4 separate regions of the Homo sapiens genome follow, and all the other regions are linked to region 1. The links are contacts of gene promoters, found by promoter capture Hi-C in human tissues and cell types (Jung and others, 2019). All regions are on one chromosome and are shown on one strand. The core of a region is centred on a gene start or on the middle of the fragment in contact, and the rest is flanking DNA. Distances in the headings are between cores, read along the strand shown.

What was found. Contacts are between HindIII fragments. The study calls those that stand out against the background at their distance.
Region 2: a fragment that was not itself captured here is called in contact with the fragment with the promoter of PSMC3 in region 1 in 1 of the 25 tissues and cell types used here (mesenchymal stem cells).
Region 3: a fragment that was not itself captured here is called in contact with the fragment with the promoter of PSMC3 in region 1 in 1 of the 25 tissues and cell types used here (lymphoblastoid cells).
Region 4: a contact is called between a fragment that was not itself captured here and the fragment with the promoter of PSMC3 in region 1, in 2 of the 25 tissues and cell types used here (dorsolateral prefrontal cortex and lymphoblastoid cells).

Annotation. Positions count from the first base shown.
Region 1 is chr11:47,424,320-47,427,814 of GRCh38, reverse strand. It overlaps PSMC3 (proteasome 26S subunit, ATPase 3), which reads left to right and starts at 1,376. Exons shown (of 12, transcript NM_002804.5): 1 at 1,376-1,610; 2 at 1,865-1,948; 3 at 2,569-2,694; 4 at 3,104-3,208; 5 at 3,324-3,386. The coding sequence starts at 1,536. RefSeq lists silencers at 1,138-1,267, 1,538-1,749 and an enhancer at 1,368-1,567. The HindIII fragment of the contact is 16,812 bases long and covers 1-3,495 here.
Region 2 is chr11:47,255,211-47,258,578 of GRCh38, reverse strand. NR1H3 (nuclear receptor subfamily 1 group H member 3) reads right to left here and starts at 583. Exons shown (of 10, transcript NM_005693.4): 1 at 450-583. The HindIII fragment of the contact is 3,305 bases long and covers 1-3,125 here.
Region 3 is chr11:47,615,038-47,618,600 of GRCh38, reverse strand. It overlaps MTCH2 (mitochondrial carrier 2), which reads left to right. Exons shown (of 13, transcript NM_014342.4): 13 at 1-1,284. Among named protein-coding and RNA genes, the nearest start is that of C1QTNF4, 22 kb to the right of the region's middle. RefSeq lists a silencer at 989-1,048. The HindIII fragment of the contact is 5,124 bases long and covers 1-3,563 here.
Region 4 is chr11:47,233,240-47,236,630 of GRCh38, reverse strand. DDB2 (damage specific DNA binding protein 2) reads right to left here. Exons shown (of 10, transcript NM_000107.3): 5 at 1,959-2,058; 6 at 1,697-1,874; 7 at 1,219-1,361. Among named protein-coding and RNA genes, the nearest start is that of ACP2, 14 kb to the left of the region's middle. The HindIII fragment of the contact is 6,251 bases long and covers 1-3,391 here.

The DNA.
Region 1 (3,495 bases), core at 127-2,626:
TACCAACACTTTAGGAGGCTGAGGCAGGAAGATCACTTACGCCCAGGAGTTTGAGACCAGCCTGGTCAACATGGTGAAACCTTGTCTCTACTAAAAATACAAAAATTAGTTGGGCGTGGTGGTGGGTGCCTGTAATCCCAGCTACTTGAGAGGCTGAGGCAGGAGAATCCATTGAACCCGGGAGGCGGAGGTTGCGGTAGGGAGAGACCGCGCCACTGCATTCCAGCCTGGGCGACAGAGCGAGACTCCGTCTCAAAAAACAAAAAACAAACAAGCAAACAAAAAAAAGGCAACGATTGCACAGATTTTCATCAGGTTAACAGAGTGTTTGTGATGGTTTGACTTGAAATATAAGCTATGTTGCTTACATGAAGTTCCCTTTAAAGGGGCTCCAGGGCTCACCTCAAAGGATAAGGAGAGATCATTTAAAATAGCCGACAAGGGTACAACGAATGAGTCTCCCATGATCCGGAGACCCGCTCTGCTCACTGAGATTACTAACCATGGTCAGAGAAAACAAACAATTGCAGATACGAGACATAATTTTTTTTGAGACGGAGTCTCGCTCTGTCGCCCAGGCTGGAGTGCAGTGGCGCGATCACGGCTCACTGCAAGCTCCGCCTCCGAGGTTCATGCCATTCTCCTGGCTCAGCCCGGAGTAGCTGGGACTACGGGCGCCCACCACCACGCCCGGCTAATTTTTTGTATATTTAGTAGAGACGGGGTTTCACCGTGTTAGCCAGGATGGTCTCGATCTCCTGACCTCGTGATCCGCCCGCCTCGGCCTCCCAAAGTGCTGGGATTACAGGCGTGAGCCACCGCGCCCGGCCCGAGTCATAATGTTTTTAATCGTAGAGGCTGATGGTCAATTGAGTTCTTCCCACGTGGACAATTCCGTGAAGCCTGCTCTGACGTTAGGAGCAGCAGCGATTTCTCTTTAAAGCTGGTTAATGATTCCCTCCCGTAACTCCGGGTGGCCAGCTTGTACTTAAATAATTGTAAAAATGCGGACTGAGGTGGCATGCCTTTTTGGCCCTTTGCACACGGCTGGCCTATGTCGTTTATTAATTGGGAGGCAGTGTCATTGTGTAAATCCCCTTATTCCTAGCGGGGTCACGGTCTGAGTTTGAACGCGCCCCTCCGCAAGCATCTGTCACGGGCCAGATTAAAGACTACATTTCCCAAAGGCCCTCGCGGATCCCACCCTTCTCCCTCCCTTTCCGGTTTTACACATAGGCCCCGCCCCCAACGCGCGTGTCGGCCAATAGCGGCCCCACCTCTCGCGCCCGGCAAAAATAGGACGCGGGCGGGAACGTTTCGGGGTCCGCGGGGGCGGGGCCTGTGGCCAGGGGTTGGTCTTTGGAATCGGAGAGGCAGATTCGCTGCTCCGCAGCACGGCCGGAGCTGGTCGGGTCAAGAGTCGGGATTTGTGGGGAGAGGTTTTCCACTGGTCAAGAGAAGGCTTTAAGAAAGACGGTATTAATCTCCCGTTGCGGCTCCCGCCTGGTCCCATCTTCTGCCCGCTCCTCCAGGAAATGAATCTGCTGCCGAATATTGAGAGTCCAGTGACTCGGCAGGAGAAGATGGCGACCGTGTGGGATGAGGCCGAGGTGGGCACCGGGCGAGCTGGCGGTCCGGGAACCGGGGCCCGCAGGGAGACGCCATTGACAAGAGGGAAGGAGGTGGCTGGGGGTCAAGGTCTGGCCCGATCCCGGGGACGGGGTTGTTTGGGATGTGGGCAGGGGTCCTGACTCCATCCTGGTTTTATGGGCGTGGAAACTGAGGCTGTGAGTGGGTTCGGAGAACGAGGGATGCTTGTCCTGAGTAAAAGTAAATATATAAATAAACAAATAATTTTTTACAGCAAGATGGAATTGGGGAGGAGGTGCTCAAGATGTCCACGGAGGAGATCATCCAGCGCACACGGCTGCTGGACAGTGAGATCAAGGTGGGCGCACAGCTCCTGTGCGGGCGATGGAGCCCCCACAGGACAGGCCCCGGCGATCCGAGTCGCCTCTCGTACTTCCTAATCGGGCACCCTGGGGGAGACATGGGGCTCGGGCTTCCCCCTCATATCAGGAAGAGAGGAAAGAAAACTAAGCCTTAAAAGGGACAAGAAGACAGGTAGGGGGTGGTGGGAGGCCTGGGCTGAGATGAGAAGTTATCAGATTGCCTTTCCCAGTGAGAACTGGGAATAATCCTCTCAAGAATCCTTCTTTTAGTAAAATGCCTATTTTACAGATGAGGAGACAGGCCCAGAGAGGTTTGTACTGCGATAAAGCACCCAGTTCTTACTATGAGGCAGAACCTAAAACCTATGTTTGCCTCTCTCGGAGGCCTGCTTTTATTCCAATACTACCACTATTTCACCAGGAGGTTTCCAAACTGGCCTCCTCTTTTGACTTCTGCAGGATGTGGACACAGTCAGACTCTGCCTTCAGAGAGCCTCAGAGCTGGATGAATGGATGCGGGAGGGTCCCCTGGGCACCCTGGACCTCACTAGTTACAGGGCTCTAGCATAAGCTGTGCCAGGGTTTATATTTGCTTCTCCTCCCCTCCTGATCTCAGATCATGAAGAGTGAAGTGTTGAGAGTCACCCATGAGCTCCAAGCCATGAAGGACAAGATAAAAGAGAACAGTGAGAAAATCAAAGTGAACAAGACCCTGCCGTACCTTGTCTCCAACGTCATCGAGGTGTGTGTGTATGTGGAGGGGAAGAGAGGGAGTCAGCAGGGAATGGGGACAGCCTGGGGTGGGGCCACTAGGGAAAGAGTGGGTGGAGGTATTGAGGCCAAACTGCATGTCAGAGCTACACCTCCTGGGGCACTTTCATGGGGAAGACGGGGCCTGCAAAGTCCTGGGAGGTCTCACGTGTCTCCTTTTCTGTTGGTTATGTCTCCTCCGGGGTAGATGAGCCCTGTGCAGAGGAGCAGCACCTACACAGAGATCAATCCCTGGGCTTAGCAGGGGCACCCACGTTTGGTGGGCTCAGGGCTATTGGAGGAGGGAGGTAAGGATGGCCAGCCCTGCAGGTATTAGGAACTGTCTTAGGAAGCACTGGGCCTTGGGGAGTTCAAGGAGCTGAGTATTTTTTCCTTCCCAGCTCCTGGATGTTGATCCTAATGACCAAGAGGAGGATGGTGCCAATATTGACCTGGACTCCCAGAGGAAGGGCAAGTGTGCTGTGATCAAAACCTCTACACGACAGGTGAGCGTGGCTCAGCAATGAGAGACTGGAGGAGGGTGAGGAGCGGATGTGGGACAGGACTAGGGAGCCTTCCCTGAGGACACTAACTGAGACTGCCCCTGTAACTTGTCCACAGACGTACTTCCTTCCTGTGATTGGGTTGGTGGATGCTGAAAAGCTAAAGCCAGGAGACCTGGTGGTGAGTGGGGCCTGAGCCCAGGCAGTGCTTTTCTGGTGACTAGCTGAGCCCCTGTACCCGCCCCAGGTCACTGTTGGCTCTGAATCTTGGCAGAACAGCTCCGAGAGTC
Region 2 (3,368 bases), core at 224-2,723, 170 kb after region 1:
AGACTCCAACCCTCCTCTGACTCCAAAGTCTGGGCTCCCAGCCACCGTGCCGGCTTTTCTCCCCCAAAGTCCCCTCCAGGCCAGCAGGGAATGTTTGGGTGCATCTGCCCTGCTTCTCTTGGGCCCCTTCCCCCTCACTCCAACACTGAGGACAGCTCACTCCACCCAGTGAAACACGCTGCTTATTAGAGAACCTCGCTCGTGCCACTTTCCAGGGTCCCAGCACAAACCTGTCTCCAAGAATCTCCCCAATTCACATAGAGGACCTCCTCCCCTGAGCCCCTCATGAGTTATTCTGGGACCCAGAGTCCTGCTCCTGTCCCAAGCTTCCATCACCATCACCCCTCACTTCTCCCCAGAAACCCCCTTCTCAGATCCTTAGGACATTCCCCGACCCCACCCCAGATACACACACAGAGCCCCAGGCCACTGCTAAGGAGCAGACCCACCAAATCCCCAGGCCACCAGACTTCCTGGGTGGGCAGTCTCTGGAGCCCCCTTGCTGGGAGAAGAGGATGGTGCAGTTTCCTGTCCAGAAGTCTCGGTGGCCAGCCAGTGAGCTGGAGCTGAGCACAAGCAGGACCTGGAGCCCCAGAGAAGTAGCAATTTGGGGAAAGGCTGAGGGGAGGGACTGCCGAGGGGTCAGGCCACCCCTCCTTCCTGCCTGGTGACCACAGCCCTCCCCTCCTCACCCCCGCCCACAGGGCAGCTTCTCCACCAGGCTGGCTCCTCCCCAGCCGGCCACCCCCTCTCCCGCCACTCCCGCCCCCTACTCCCGGCCAAAACAGTGGCATTTCCCTGCAGACCAGCCAAGTTCCATGTCTCTCCCCTTCCTCTCCTTACCCAGCGCTCTTAGCAGCTCTTGCAAAAGGACTGCCTCCCAGGAACCCCCACCCCAATCCCAGCAGCCTCCAGAATCGTGTTCCCTCCCCTCCATAGGCACCTCGTGGAGCAAAGGTCCCAGCACGGCCCGGAATTGCGACACTGAGCCCCAGCGGCTTTCCCAGCCTCCCTCCTCCTCCCTTGCCTCTGGGAAGAGGCCAAGAAGCTCTCCCCACTAGCCCCAGGCCTCAGCCAAGCTGGTAGAAATCCAGGGGTGGAGAGAGGCAGGTGCTGGGCCTTCCAGGGAGTTTCTGAAAGTGGGTGCCCTGCGGGGGCCACAGATAAGAGAGGAGGCCAGGAGAGCCTTTGATAGGAAATCTGCTATGAGCAGTGGCAGGCCTGGGATAGGGGTGGAGGTGGCAGAAGGAAGACAGGCAACTCAGGTGGCAGCCCAGGATGGACCTGGGAAGGTATGCGGGTTGCCTCTTCTGGGGAACAACCCCATCTGAAGTGATGGCAGGCTCCAACCAGCAGCTACTGAGACTATAGTCATTCTTCCTACTCTGCTGCCTGGGGCATGAAATCCATCCCTGAAAGTAGACATCATATTTTATTGATTTCATCTCCCCCAACACCCCTGAAACAGGGCTGGCATAGATGTGGCAACAGAGTAGGTACTGTGTTCCTATTTGTTGAATGAATAACAAGAAAAATATAATATATTCTCGGCCGGGCGCGGTGGCTCACGCCTGTAATCCCAGCACTTTGGGAGGCCGAGGCAGGCGGATCACGAGGTCAGGAGATCGAGACCATCCTGGCTAACACGGTGAAACCCCGTCTCTCCTAAAAATACAAAAAATTAGCCGGGCATGGTGGCAGGCGCCTGTAGTTCCAGCTACTCGGGAGGCTGAGACAGAAGAATGGCGTGAACCCGGGAGGCAGAGCTTGCAGTGAGCCGAGATTGCGCCACTGCACTCCTGCCTGAGTGACAGAGCGAGACTCTGTCCCCAAAAAAAAAAAAAAAAGAAATATTATTCTCGTCTATCCCGTACTTATTAGCCCTAGTCAATTTTTTTTATTATTCCTTTTTTTTTTTTTTTTTACCTTTTTTGGGGTAGGGTCTCACTATGTTGCCCAGGCTGGCTTCACACTCCTGGGCTCAAGCCATCCTCCCACCTCAGCCTTCCAAAGTGCTAGGATTACAGGCACACGCCATCACAACTGCTGTAGTCAATTTCAACTCAGCATGTTGATTTAGCGTTCAGACTCTGGGCTCAGATTTTGGGTTCAAATCCTAAACCTCTTATTACCTATGTGATCTTGATTGAGCAAGTTACTTAACGTCTCTGAATCTTTGTTTCCCTATCTTTAAAATAAGAATAGTTGAGCCAGCAATGGTGTGTTGAAAAATAAATAGAACGGGCACGGTGGCTCACGCCTGTAATCCCAGCACTTTGGGAGGCCTAGGCGGGTGGATCACTTGAGGTCAGGAGTTCGAGACCAGCCTGGCCAACATGGTGAAACCCCGTCTCTACTAAAAATACAAAAGTTAGCCAGGCATAGTGATGCGGGTCTGTAATCCCAGCTACTCGGGAGGCTGAGGGAGGAGAATCACTTGAATCTGGGAGGTTGCAGTGAGCCGAGATTGTGCCACCACACTCCAGCCTGGGTGACAGACTGAGACTCCATCTCAAAATAAAAAAAAGAAAAAGAAAGAAAGATAAATAAAATAGGGATAATAGTAATTTTTACCACACAAGGTTGTTGTGGGATTGAAACTACAGATCATGCAGGGTGCGGTGGCTCATGCCTGTAATCCCAGCAGTTTGGGAGGCCAAGGCAGATGGATCACTTGAGGTCAGGAGTTCCAGACCAGCCTGGCCAACATGGTGAAACCCCATCACTACTAAAAATACAAAAAATTAGCCGGGTGTGATGATGCATTCCTGTAATCCCAGCTACTCAGGAGGCTGAGGCAGGAGAATCACTTGAACCTGGCAGGCAGAAGTTGCAATGACCCGAGATCGCGCCATTGCCCTCCAGCCCGGGCAACAACAGCAAAACTCCAAAAAAAAAGAAGAAAGAAAGAGAGAGAGAGAGAGAAAGAGAAAGAAAGAAAGAAAGAAAGAAAGAAAGAAAGAGAGAGAGAGAGAGAGAGAGAAAGAAAGAAAGAAAGAAAGAAAGAAAGAAAGAAAGAAAGAAAGAAAGAAAGAAAAAGAAAGAAAGAAAGAGAGTCTATCACAACGTGTGGCACATAGTGTTTGAGAAATGGCACGAGTTATCATCACCCTCCCAGTTCTTTCAGCTGTAGGTCTTCCCATTGCTTTAACTTGGTGGATTTTGAACTTTGTACTTGTTTCCATACACAGCACAAACCCTTCACTATCTTTTCTGGTCCTTAGAGCAGCGCTGGGAGGAAAGGAGGGTAAGTAACCCGAGCTCCATTTGACAGAGAACACTGAAACTCATGTGAGGGCCTTTTCCAAGACCACACAGTTAGTGGCTGGGCTGGGATCAGAACCCAGATGTCCTCACTCCAGTCCCTT
Region 3 (3,563 bases), core at 476-2,975, 190 kb before region 1:
TTTTACTTAACCAGAAGGGAAAAAAAGTTGTATTTTCCTGAAGCTACAGGCACTTTGTCATGTGATTTTTGAGTCTCAATTTAAGGCTTTGTAAAATGAAGAGTAGAATTCCAAGAAAAATGAGAAATAATTTTGTAAAACTTAACAAAATCACTAAATTAAACTATATGGGAGGTTATGAATTACTTTTTCTTGGGTAGACCCTAAAATGTCAGTAGCATGCACCAGAATCTGACTCCCATTATGCTTCTAAGCACATTTCATTGACCTTGTCTCTCATACTTCAAGAAAAGGACAGTACATTGCTACATTACCCTAGAAAGTCTGTGTGAGGATCTGCCCCTTCAGTCTGTTATTGCAAAGTAATAAAATGTCACCTACAGGGAGCCTCTGAGCCTACTCTAGTTCAAGAGGCTACCTGAAAAAAAATAAATAAGATAAAGGGTCAGCAACAACAAAGAAAAAGACAATTACAGAAAATAAGCAAGATTTGGAAAGGAAGTATAATGGCACTTTTTTCCTCAAAGGAAGTTCTTGTTTTCACATAAAATATGAAAAGCAGATCCTGCAGGAGTAACCCCCTTCTTTAAGAGCCAAGTATTTGCCAGTGCTTAAATTACACCATACAGTTCTAATTATATATAATCTTTTGTTCTTCAGTTTTTTGTTTTGTTTCCTTTTTGTTATTGTTGCCGAAGGTGAGTAGTTTTGCATTTCTGATGACAGCCTTGGAAAGTATATTTGTAACTCCATGTCTGGTAATGCCAACCCAAGTCGACATGGGTCTTAGGACACTGACCACCTCACATGCCATACCCTCAGTTAAGCATGTTAACATTTATAGGAGGAAAAAAATCACTTTGGGAGAAAATAAAATTCAACTCAAGCATAAAGCTTCTGTTTACTCAGGCCTTCTAAAAAGCAGGTTAAAATGCTCTAAAATGAGAAAGCCTGTGGTTTCACTTATTTATATAACTCACTGGGACATTGCCAAATGAGTAAGCACTTAATTCGCTGCTTCTGAGACTTCTCTGTCAAAACAGCCCCACTGATAATATTAGACAGAACGAGAATGCAGGGGTCTCTTCCCTCCCCTGGGGTTTAGGAAGCTCATGAGGAGCTCGGCTTAAAATGTCTTTGATGTCTCTTCCTTTGTCTCAAAAAGTAATGTCAATTTTATATACTATTTCAATATTACTATCTGCATTTGTTTTAATATAAAAATGTTTGCTGCCTACCTTTTTCTCCCAAAAAATCTTTAAGTAAAGATGATCTGGGAAAATGTGCCATGTTTATCCTGTGGCTTCTGTGAACTTTCATGCTTGCCTATTCCTAGTTGAGAAGCATGTCTGACTCTGATAACCAGTCTACCACCAGAGGACGCCAAGGCTTCAGTTTTTCCTGTGCAAGTTGGGTGGCTGAGAAATTTCTCCAAGGCCTAGGATTGCTCAAAATACTAGTCCAGCTGTTTCAGTCTTGCTGCATCCAAGCTAGAGGTCTAGTCAGAGTCCTATACCTATGATCCTCCATAATATCTTACTATAAGCTACTAACATAAAAGTCTAAAGATATTCAGGGGCTAGGAAATGCAGGTAGGTGCCATTAAGAAACACATGCGACCGGGCGCAATGGCTCATGCCTGCAATCACAGCACTTTGGGAGGCCGAGGCAGGTGGTTCACCTGAGGTCGAGAATTCGAGACCATCCTGACCAACATGAAGAAACCCTGTCTCTACTAAAAATAACAAAATTAGCCGGGCATGGTGGCACATGCCTGTAATCCCAGCTATGCGGGAGGCTGAGGCAGGAGAATCTCTTGAAACCCAGGAGGTGGAGGTTGCAATGAACTGAGATCACGCCATTGCACTCCAGCCTGGGCAACAAGAGTGAAACTCCCATCTCTTAAAAAAAAAAAAAAGAAAAAAAAAGAAACACATGCAAGAAATAATGAACTCAGTAAGTAATATGAACTTAGGCTGGTTGTGGTGGCCCATACCTGTAATCCTAACACTTTGGGAGGCTGAGGCAGGTGGATCACTTGAGGCCAAGAGTTGGAGACCAGCCTGGCCAATATATCTACTAAAAATACAAAAAAATTAGTCGGGCATGGTGGCACGCACCTGTAGTTCAGGAGGCTGAGGCAGGAGAATCGCTTGAACCTGGGAGCTGGAGGTTGCAGTGACCCAAGATTGTGCCACTGGGTGACAGAGTGAGACTCTGTCTCTTAAAAAAAAGAAAAAGAAAAGTAGGGGTTCTCTAGTAAGCCACTTGTGAAACTGGTTTTCCTTTGTGGTACCAAGCTAAGTTGCCACAAACTGTTCCTCTAGAGTATGTGGTGACCATTGAAACCTTGACTTAAGAAGAGTGTGGGGTGGGCTGGGGGCAGTGGATCACTTGAGTCCAGGAGCTCAAGACCAGCCCGGGCAACATGGTAAAACCCTGTCTCTATTTTTTAAAGAAATAAAGGGAGGAAAATTAGCTGGGCGTGGTGGCACATGCCTGTAATCCCAGCTACTTGGGAGGCTGAGGCATGAGAATCGCTTGAACCCAGGAAGCGGAGGTTGCGGTAAGCTGAGATCGTGCCATTGCACTCCAGCCTAGGCAACAAGAGTGAAACTGCATCTTAAAAATAAAGAAGGTATGGGTTTCCTGGAACTTTGGGGGATCATTATAAAAATACTAGGGTAAAAAAGCAACCTTAGTAATCCCAGCAATTTGGGAGGCCGAGGCGGGTGGATCATGAGGTCAGGAATTTGAGACCAGCCTGACCAACATGGTGAAACCCTGTCTCTACTAATACAAAAATTAGGCGTGGTGGCGGGCACCTGTAATCCCAGCTACTCAGGAGGCTGAGGCAGGAGAATCGCTTGAAATCGGAAGGTGGAGGTTGCAGTGAGCTGAGATTGCCCCACTGCACTCCCGCCTGGTCAACAAGAGTGAAACTCTGTCTCAAAAAAAAAAAAAAGCAACCTTAGGATGAAAGAAACATTCAACATAAGCCCTATATTCCATCATCTCTGTTACCTCAGCATACCTTGACTTAACTATAATTTCCTATTCTAGAAATGTCCTCCCCCTCTTGCCAGTGACATGTTTCTGTACTGTCAGATTCAGTTCTAGTGCCATCTCTTTGTGAAGTCACTGAGAGTCCCAACTGGGTGAGAGGGCTGTGCCTTCAAACTCTCCCTCCTTCAGAGCATGTAATGATAGTACAAACTAACTGACAAAAACTACATCCAACACCAAGTTCATGTTTTATACAGCAGGAGCATTACTTCTCTCTGATTTGAAAATCTGTGGGGGAAAAATATATATTTAGTCCTTTAAAACAGGCCAACTAAAACAGCCTGCTTGGATAATATAGTGAGACCTTTTCTCAACACAAAAATTTAAAAATTAGCCAGGCTTGGTGGTGTGCACCTGTAGTGCCAGCTACACAGGAGGCTGAAGTGGGACGACTGGTTGAGTCCTGGGAGGTTGAGGCTGTACTGACCTATGGTCGCACCACTGCACTCCAGCCTAGGTGTCAACTGAGAGCCAAAAAAAAAAAAAAAAAAAAAAAA
Region 4 (3,391 bases), core at 559-3,058, 190 kb after region 1:
CACAACAACCCTATCAGTTAGAGACTAGTATTCCCTTTTTGCAGATGAGGAAACAGATCCAAAATATAAGTAATTTGCCCAAGGATTCTAACCCGGGGGGTCTGGCTGCTGGAAACTGGCGCTCCCCACCACTATTCTGAACTGACCAGAGAAGTATAGGCATAAAACCTGAAGATCTGAAGAGGATCTGTAGTTTTGGAAAAGAATGCAGAACTAGCAGAGCTCAGTCTGCATGGGGGCTTAGGCAAAAAGGCATCAAAGGACTTGAAAGCTATTAGTGTTGGGGACTAATGATAGAGAAGCTATTAACAAGAGCCTGAGAAAAGGTGGGAAAATAAAAGACTTATTTTTATTATTAGAAGCACTGAAACCTGCAAGACAAACTAAGAAGGCAAAGTTGCCAGGCGCAGTGGCTCATGCCTGTAATCCTAGCACTTTGGGAGGCCAAGGTTGGGGGATGGCTTCAACCTAGGAGTTCAAGACCAGCTTGGGCAACATGGCAAAACCCCATCTCTATAAAAAATAAAAAAATTAGCTGGGTATGGTGGCGCATACCTGTAGTCCAATCTACTTCCGAGGCTAAGGCGGAAGGATTGCTTGAACCCAGGAGGTTGAGGCTGCAGTGAGCTATGTTTGTGCCACTGCACTCCAGCCTGGGTGACAGAGCAAGACCGTTTCAAGAAAAAAAAAAAAAAAAAAAAAAAGGATCAGCCTGGGTAACACAAGAATACCCTGTCTCTACAAAAAAAAAAAAAGTGAGGCAGGAGGATCGCTTGAGCCTGGGAGATCAAGGCTGTAATGAACCATGCTTGCCCCACTGTACTCCCACCTGGGTGACAGAGCGAGACCCTGCCTTAAAAAAAATAATAAAAAAATAAAAAATGAAGGTTTGTGGGTCAACTGTACACAGGTAACTGAAGCTGAGAAGACAGAACAGAGGGTCAGGATCTTAGAAAATTCTCACAGTGAGATCAGAGCTGGGCTGAAAAAACTCAGAAAAATATCTTATCAGCGAGACAGAAAACTCAACCATATGGGATGGCAGAAGTGGGATAAAAGGAAGAGAGAGAGCCAATGGGTAAGAGATGCTCTGTGCTCGGGCCAGGAGCGATCTGGGGTGGCAGGCTTACCACATCAGCCCTTCCCCACTGTGGGCAGACCTGCTCCGGCCTCATGATCACAGCCTCCTTCTGCGAGCTCCTTCCCACCGCCACTCACCTTGATGGGTGTGAGGTGCTGGAAGTGACGGTGAGGGTGCGGGATCAGGCCCAGGGGGCAGTCCCACTGGGAAGCAGAGTAAACTCGGATCTCGCTCTTCTGGTCCGTGGTCAGGAGCCGGGCTCCATCGGGACTGAAACAAGCTGGCAAAGTGAAAAGCCCCTGAGCTGAAGGAACCACAAGCCCTCTGTGGTCCTGGCCTTGCAGGCCTTCTCCTGCAGGGGTACTCTCCCTCCCACTCCTCTCTAGACAGGAGCGGAAAGGAAGAGGTGAATCTGGGCTGTGAACAACAACAAAAAAATTCTGGAAACTCAGCAGCTGATGGGGACAGCCACAGCCACAAAGGTTCCCAGACATCAGCTTGGCAGACGCTATCAGGGGTAAAGGTTTGACGTAGTGGCTTCCACACTGAGGGAAAACCCCAGCAGTGGTCAGACAGGCAGGGTCTGCAGGAGAGATGAGGTCTGGGATATCACACCTGCGTTGACAGGATGCCTGTGCGGCAGCGAGTAGAGGAAGCTGGCTTTCCCTCTAACCTGGCGCAGGTCCCAAATTTTCACTGTTTGATCTACGGAGGCTGTGGCCAGGAACCAATCACAGCATGGGTTCAGGGCCACATGCGTCACTTTCTTTTTGTGCATTCTGAGATTCCAAAGCTGCAGAGAAGAGCTCGGTTCAGGTGGGGACACAGAACCGAGGTGGGGGTGAGGGAGGGAAAGGCAGGACCTCGGAGAACGCACCTCTTTGCCGTCCATGTTCAGCAGGATCACGTTCCCCACGTTGTCTCCTGTGACCACCATTCGGCTACTAGCAGACACATCCAGGCTACAAAACCAGATGCTGGAGGGAGAGACTGTGTTGTAAGATTCTTGGGGACAGAGATAGTCCTATTTACTCACTGTTGCCGCTCCGGTGACTAACCCACAGCGGGCATTCAATAAATATTTGTTGAATGAATGAATAACTGTCTTGCCGTGGATTCCTAGTGAGGAACATTCAGACTGCTCTACCGTCCAGACAGAGGGGATGGGATAATGGGGCTCAGAAATCTGTCTGGTTATGGCTGGGCCCAGGATCCCCAGCTCCTAAAAGTCCCTGAAGCAGACAAAGCTTATACCATAAAGCAAGCCCTGAGGCACGCCTGCCCCCCACACCCCGGGTTCTGAGCAAGCCTCCTTTACTGCTCTCTCCTTTCACTCTTCACCCTTTAGGCCAAAGGAGACACAAGCCAAAGAGGGATTGCCTGGCCCTGTTCCTCAGAGCTGGCTAGAAAAGCACTTCTGCCCCCTTCTGAACACTGGGGGAAAAAACACAACCAGGAGCTCTTCTGGTCCCTCAAACCACTGGACTGGGAGGCTGACTAGGAGGGTGCTTCAGGGATCCTGCTATTCAGCCAGAAGAGCTCAGCTCACAGTTTTTCTCTCAAACTCTCAAATCCATGCTACACTGCCTTTTGCCATCCCCTATGAATATCTTCAAGCAGGAAGATTTCTTGCGGAAGAGTAGCCTGGAGCCTTGTCTATCCAATTGCCTGCTGATTTGCGTGCGCATGCACTCCTCATCCCTGCGGGACAGCCCAGGATCCAATCCAATGCTAGTTACACCCCAGCACCCTCACTTAATTCCTCAGGGAGCAGTCAGAGTCACGGCTCTAGCTGGAAATCAAAGTGACGAGTATTCTGTAATTTTTTTTTTTTTTTTTTGAGATAGATTTTCGCTCTTGTTGCCCAGGATGGAGTGCAATGGCGCCATCTCGGCTCACTGCAACCTCTGCCTCCTGGGTTCAAGCGATTCTCTTGCTTCAGCCTCCCAAGTAGCTGGGAATTACAGGGGCCTACCACCACGCCCAGCTAATTTTTTGTATTGTTAGTAGAGATGGGGGTTTCACCATGTTGGCCAGGCTGGTCTCGAACTCCTGACCTCAGGTGATCCACCCACCTTGGCCTCCCAAAGTGCTGGGATTTCAAGCATGAGCCACTGCACCCGGCCGCATTCTGTAATTTCTCCAGCCACTTTCTCTTGGGAAGTCCAGAGCACTTTATGGAAAAGATTCCATCCATATAAGCTTCCACCCAGGAACAGGTCAGGTCATTACACCACAGTGAGTGCAGGGCATTCAGTCTCAAGTTCTGAGCTGTTGCTCCATTCTCTAGGTGGCTTTCTGGGTCCACGC